2 separate regions of the Homo sapiens genome follow, and region 1 is linked to region 2. Evidence: promoter capture Hi-C in human tissues and cell types (Jung and others, 2019). All regions are on one chromosome and are shown on one strand. The core of a region is centred on a gene start or on the middle of the fragment in contact, and the rest is flanking DNA. Distances in the headings are between cores, read along the strand shown.

Region 1 (2,861 bases), core at 127-2,626, 1.5 Mb before region 2:
ATTCTTAAAAAGTAAGGCTTAGTTTTTTGATATTTGAATCTGATTTCTATTTCCAAGCCTACTTTCCCAATTTTAAGGAAACATAGAACTTTATCTCTGCCTAATATGAAACATCCTTAAAACATGCCTCTTTTCCATCTTGGCTCAATCAATCACTTTTAATAAAACGCCGATGCGGGCAAAGACCTTCCCAGAAATACACTGAATAGAACGATCATCCAGGAAATGCTTTCTTTGACAAAGCAGATTCAAGACTTCTTTTTGGCTAGGAGAATAAAGACAGAAGAATGTTCCTGGCCTTTAATTGGTTCACAACCACTTTGTAGCATCTAATCCCAAAGCTCTGACTTTGCTCTAGTTTGTAGATATACAAAATAATTTATTATAATTTTTATACTTCCTTAAGGATTTTTAAAATTTGCATGTGGCCCTTTTTAATTAGACACTTTTGTATAATATCCATTTTGTGCTCTGTAACTTATTAATGTAACATAAAACAAAACTGAATCTACATATTAGACATGTATTTCTCAATTATTATATTTCAATTTAAATACCACTGAAATCCTTAATTCTATCATGAGTCACACTTTTAATGTCTCATGCTGTTATAGATTTTACAAAGATCAGACATTTTAATTTTTTTCCTAAGATTTCCTGTGCACCTCAGGTGATAAATATAAGAGTAAGCAGATGAGAATGGAAGCAGTAATCAAGCGGTGATTCTCCATCATAGCTGTGCATTCCAGATCCTCCTCACCCCCACCTCCACCCCTCCCACATGGGAAAGCTTTTGAATTTACCATTGCTTAATCTTGCCTCATCTCAGATTAAATATGTCTTGGATGAGTCCCAGGCAAGTTTGTTTCACAAGTTCATTCCAGCTGATTCTAACGTGCATCAGTTTAGGAATCCCTGAAATAGACCAAGATTTCTAATAGTAATATAGGAGGAGGAAGGGGAAATACACAGAAAAATAGCTGGCATAGGGTTAGGTGCATAAGAACTGAAACACCTGGTGAGGAGGAACACAGACTAGAGTACCGAAAGCATAATTATGGTGTTTAAAAAAACGTCATTGTGATTTTGATAGAGAGCGAAGTTCTATAGGATACCATCAGATATGGACAGCAAATGGTCAAGAGGATTAAGGAATGAGCTTCCTAGATTGAAAGCATAGACAACCCCAGGAAATAAATAGTCATTAAAAAGATTAAGGAACATAGTCATATTTCACAGAACATATGGAAAGACTTTCAAATAGCTTGGGTTAAAAAGCCAGTCAGATGGCTATTTATAGAGAAATAATTAGTGAGAGAGACTACACAAGTCAGAGATTAGAAATCAGTTATTTAGGTTTGATATGCAGCCCTATTTAGAATAAAAGTGCAATTGATTTGGTAGAACTTTAAATAATTTGCTACAGTAAGTACTAAAGAACTGAAAGTAAACTGTTCAAGCCATCTAGATAAAGTCATAGGGCCTTGAAAGCCTTAATTCTAACACAGTTGATTTGAAAGTGGGAGATGTTCATTCTACAATACATTTCTTATAAATATAAAGCATAGAACCTCCAAAATCTTCTCCGCCCTCACAATGTATTTGGTTCTTCATTTAAAACTGGAAAAGCCACTGGGGATAAACAAAATAAAATAAATGACCGAAACCTCTAGAAATATGAGAAAAAGTTTCCTGCAAGGGGGCATTTAATCTGGTGACCTGAATTCTCTGTACTAGGGGTTAAAACACCTGCTTATGCTTCTTTTTCTCTTAAACAACACAAAACACCAATACTGATTTATTACTATACTAGCTGTAATTCTTGTTAAAAGAAAAGCCTTAGACAAATGTAATTTAACAGAGTTTAGCTGAGCAAAGAACATTTGGTAAATCAGATAGCCTGAACCAGAAGAGGTTCAGAGAGGTTACCCTGAAGCTTCATAGTAGAAGATTATTTATGGACAGAAAAACGAAAGTGATGAGCAAAAAATGGAAGTGGTTACAGAAATGGCTGGATTGTTCACTTTTGCTATGCTTTAGCATGGAGCTTGGTTAGACTGTGCCCCTGCCCGTCAGGTCTGTGGAACATTGAACTTGAGAATGATGATTTAGGGTACGTGGTAGAGAAAATATCTAAGCAGCAAAACATTCAAGATTTGGCCCTGCTGCTTCTAACAGCAAATGCTCATGTGTGTGAACAAAGAAATGACCTTAAACGGGAATTTACATTTAAAAAAATTGCAGACTGGCTCTGTGATAGTAAAGAAAAGCCTGTTTTCTTGGAAGGAATTCAAGCAAGCTGCAGAAATTTGCATAGCTAAAAGGAAGGTAAGCACTGATAGCCAAGACAATGGGAAAAAAGGCCAAGATGGCATTTTAGAGAAGTTCCTTGCACCCTCTCCCATCACAGGCCTAAAGGCCTAGGAGGAAAGTATAGTTTCATGGGCCAGGCCTAGGGTCTGCTGCTCTGCACACCTCAGGACACTGCTCCCCATATCCCAGCTTCTCCAGATCCAGTTATGGCTCAAAGGGAACCAGATATAGCTCAGGCTACTGCTTCAGAGAGTGTAAGCCATAAGCCTTGGCAGCTTTCATGTGGTATAAGGCCTGTAGGTACACAGAGTGCAAGAGTTGAGGCTTGGGATCCTCTGCCTAGATTTCAGAGAATGTTTGGAAAAGCCTGGCTGTCCAGGAAGAAGCTTGCTGAAGGAGGGAGCCCTCATGGAGAACCTATACTAGGGCAGAGCAAAGGGAGAATGTGAGGTTACAGCCCCCACACAGAGTCCCCACTGGGGCACTTCCTAGTGGAGCTACAAGAAGAAGGCCACCATATTCCAGACCCTGGAATGATAGATACAGCA
Region 2 (3,116 bases), core at 382-2,881:
TGACACCAACATTGGCCTAAGCTAAAATTGGTTTTCTTTTTCAGAGATTGTAGGTTGATTCTAGGTTGCAGAAAAGGCAAAATATTTTGCTAGAGGCATGGAATACAGATTAGGTTGGTGATGTCACAAAAGAGGTTTTCAACAGTGTCAGCAGAGGCTATAGTGATGAGTAAGGAAGTTGATAAACGGCAACATCTGAAATAGCTACTCGCCCTGAATAGGCAGGTGGAGAATATTAGTTACACGTGGGACAAATCCCATTATGAGACATATCATCACAACAAGAATATTTCATTCTAGATTTTAGAATCCCAGGTTTTGGCTCACTTTGGTCAAGAAAAATTATAAATAATTGAGTTACAGATAATTAAATGTTAGCCTCCTGGAGTGCATGGCAATTGGTTTTGACCTCTATATTAAAATTCACAAGACCACGGACATAAGTCAAAACAGGTCCCCTTCGTCTCCCTAGTCACCATCTCCAGGGCTAAAAAACAGACTTGAAATGGGTGGCAGTTAGACTACAGGAAACAGGATCTACAAGCACCAGGAGCTCATCTATGGCTATCTGACATCGCCTGGGGACACCTCACTCTCTGGCAGGCTCCTGCTGGCTGGAGATTGTTAACATCGCCAATCAGATGTTAATTGAATGCAAAGGAATAGGAAATAAATTCTGGTTCTGAAGGGGCAGCTGGAAAGGTGTTGGGCTTCTCAGATTCCAACCTACATTACAAAGCAGGCCTAAAGCCAAGCATACTCCTTGCCAGAAGAAACGGAAAGCCCCTCTCCCGTTTTTAGAATCAGGCTGGAAAACACGGCTCCCAGAAGGTGGGGTTAGAAAACAAGAGCTTGCGAGGCGGCGCCCTGTGGTCCCTCGAGGAAATAGTAGAGAGACAAAGAGGGCCTGCTCCTGGGAAGCCCTAAATTCGAAGCCAATCCTTCCTCCTAGACATGACCACAACTTTAAAGGGCAGGGCGCACACCTCCCCTCCCGGATCTCTAGGACAAAGGCAGGTCGAGGGTAAATATTTCTAGTTATTCAGTATATTCAGTGGCTAACTATTTATTTTGTGGGTACCAGACACCGACATAATCGGTTACGTCCTTCCCTTAATTCTCATAATTCTGAGGTTTGTGTTATTAACCCCCTATTATCTTTGGTCTACCCAGGGCAGCCAAAGAGGCGCAGAGAAGAATGACAAGGTGCCCAGCAAGCGGCAGGATCAAAGCCTGGGTCTCTAATTCCCAGGCTGGAGATTCTGGGCTGCCTGCTCCTCCTGCACGGGGCGAAAAGCCCACCTGGGATCCGAGCGGGCGGCCGCGCCACTCTCGCAGGCTCCATACACCCGCCACTACCCGCCTGTACCACCTGCAGCCGGCAGCGCAGCCTCCTCGCGGGTCCCGCAGGGCGCGCTGCAGGTGCGCTGGGCGTCCCGAAGCCCCGCCCTCGCGTCCCTGCCCCGCGCCCAGCTCCTCACGCTCGGTGCCCGCGCCCCGCAGCGGCAGCGCAGAACGCACCGCCTCTGCCAGAGCCCGGGAAGCGCTCGGGCGAAGAGGAGGAGCCAAGGGTACCGAGCGGGTGGAGTCGGGAGCCGGAGAGCGGTGGAGGCGGATTTCCTGGGCCCGGCCCTCTGGCGCTACCATGGCGTTTGGCAAGAGTCACCGGGATCCCTACGCGACCTCCGTGGGCCACCTCATAGGTAAGGAGGCGCGGGGAGAGACGCCCAGGCAGGCAGGGGACCGTGGGATCCTTTCCTGCTTGATCCATTCTCGGCCTGCAGAGGACGGAGTTAGTCCAACTTGAAAAAATTATTCCCCTCCCCCCGCAACTTTCCCAAGGCACCCGCATTCCACCCGGCCCCCTTTCGTCGTTTCCTTCTTGGCCAACTCACTGTAGAACCTCAGTCCTCAAAAATGTACCTTCCTTTCGATGCCGCCTGGGGAGTGGAACCAAACAGGTGAACCGCGGGAGTCAGGCATGGAGTGTTTGGGCCTCCACGAGGAGACACCAGAAACTTCTCGGTAGGGGAAGTTATTCCTAAAGGCACATTCTCCAGGGCACGGTATTGTTATGCCCGTTTTACAGATCAGAAGAGGAGGCTCTGGGAGACTAAGTGATGTGGCCTTACTGTGAGGGGCAGGTCTCCCCAAACCAGTTTTCTCTAGTGCCAAGCTTATACAACCTGGATTACTTTTCTGGGTAAACAAAGAGAATGAAAATGCTTGGCATTGGAGTGAAGAGGAGGGGAACATAGGAGCCATCTGGGGCCACGGAGGTCTCTCGCAGGCCACTAGGGACTACACCAGCATCCACCTAAATGATTTCTCTCTCCTCCGGATGTACCTTGCATGATGTATGTAGAAGCCAGTGATTGGACTCCTACCAGCACCAGCTCACTGCTCCTTCTTTTCCCTGATTCCTCCCTTGGGAATTGGGTGTGGCACGAGTGCATATTAATGCCAGGCAAAGTGTGATGATGTCAGGAACTTAGTGGGGTGATGAAATCGTGAGAACCTAGTAGTTGTAGTAAAGAGGCCCAGATTTGGAAAATTTAGATCACAGCTCTACTAACTGCTGTGACACCGAACACACCACTTAAACAGAACCTTAGTTTACACATCCTTATAAGATGGTCAGAGTAGCTACCATTGAGGAGATGCTTTCCCTTAATGGCTGTGCTTTTTTGGATATTAGAATGAACCCCAAGCAGAAATGGATTCAGACTGTGTCTTCATAGGCAAACGAAACTTCAGCAGTTCTTCTGCTTAATTTTTTAATTCTGTAAACATGGACTAACTGTCAGCTATGTGCCTGGACCTGGATCAGGCACTGGTGAGGCCAAGGTGAGACGTGGTCTCAAACCTGAGGGAACTCACTTTCTTGTAGAGAAGACGGGCACAGTTTTGTGTGGCACCTTTGCAATGCAAGAAAATGCAAAACACACAAAACTTAGGAGAAGGGAGAAATGAATTCTGCGTGGCTTTTGAAGGGTGAATAGGAGTTTTCTTTTCTAGGGAGGTAAGCTTTGTCCATTCGGTGCCAGATTCAAGTTTTTTGTTGTTGTTGTTTTGTTTTTGTTTTTGTTTTTGTTTTGAGACGGGGAGTGACACCC

What was found. The method cuts DNA at HindIII sites, captures the fragments that hold promoters and counts their contacts. A contact is called where the count stands out against the background at its distance.
Region 1: a fragment that was not itself captured here is called in contact with the fragment with the promoter of TOM1L1 in region 2 in 1 of the 25 tissues and cell types used here (dorsolateral prefrontal cortex).

The regions. Positions count from the first base shown.
Region 1 is chr17:53,425,858-53,428,718 of GRCh38, forward strand. No RefSeq gene overlaps it. Among named protein-coding and RNA genes, the nearest start is that of KIF2B, 400 kb to the right of the region's middle. The HindIII fragment of the contact is 3,801 bases long and covers 1-2,861 here.
Region 2 is chr17:54,899,221-54,902,336 of GRCh38, forward strand. TOM1L1 (target of myb1 like 1 membrane trafficking protein) reads left to right here and starts at 1,632. Exons shown (of 16, transcript NM_005486.3): 1 at 1,632-1,703. The coding sequence starts at 1,646. It overlaps LOC124904033 (a long non-coding RNA gene), which reads right to left and starts at 1,517. Exons shown (of 2, transcript XR_007065854.1): 1 at 1-1,517. RefSeq lists a silencer at 1,307-1,646 and enhancers at 1,727-1,836, 1,857-1,946. The HindIII fragment of the contact is 7,312 bases long and covers 1-2,601 here.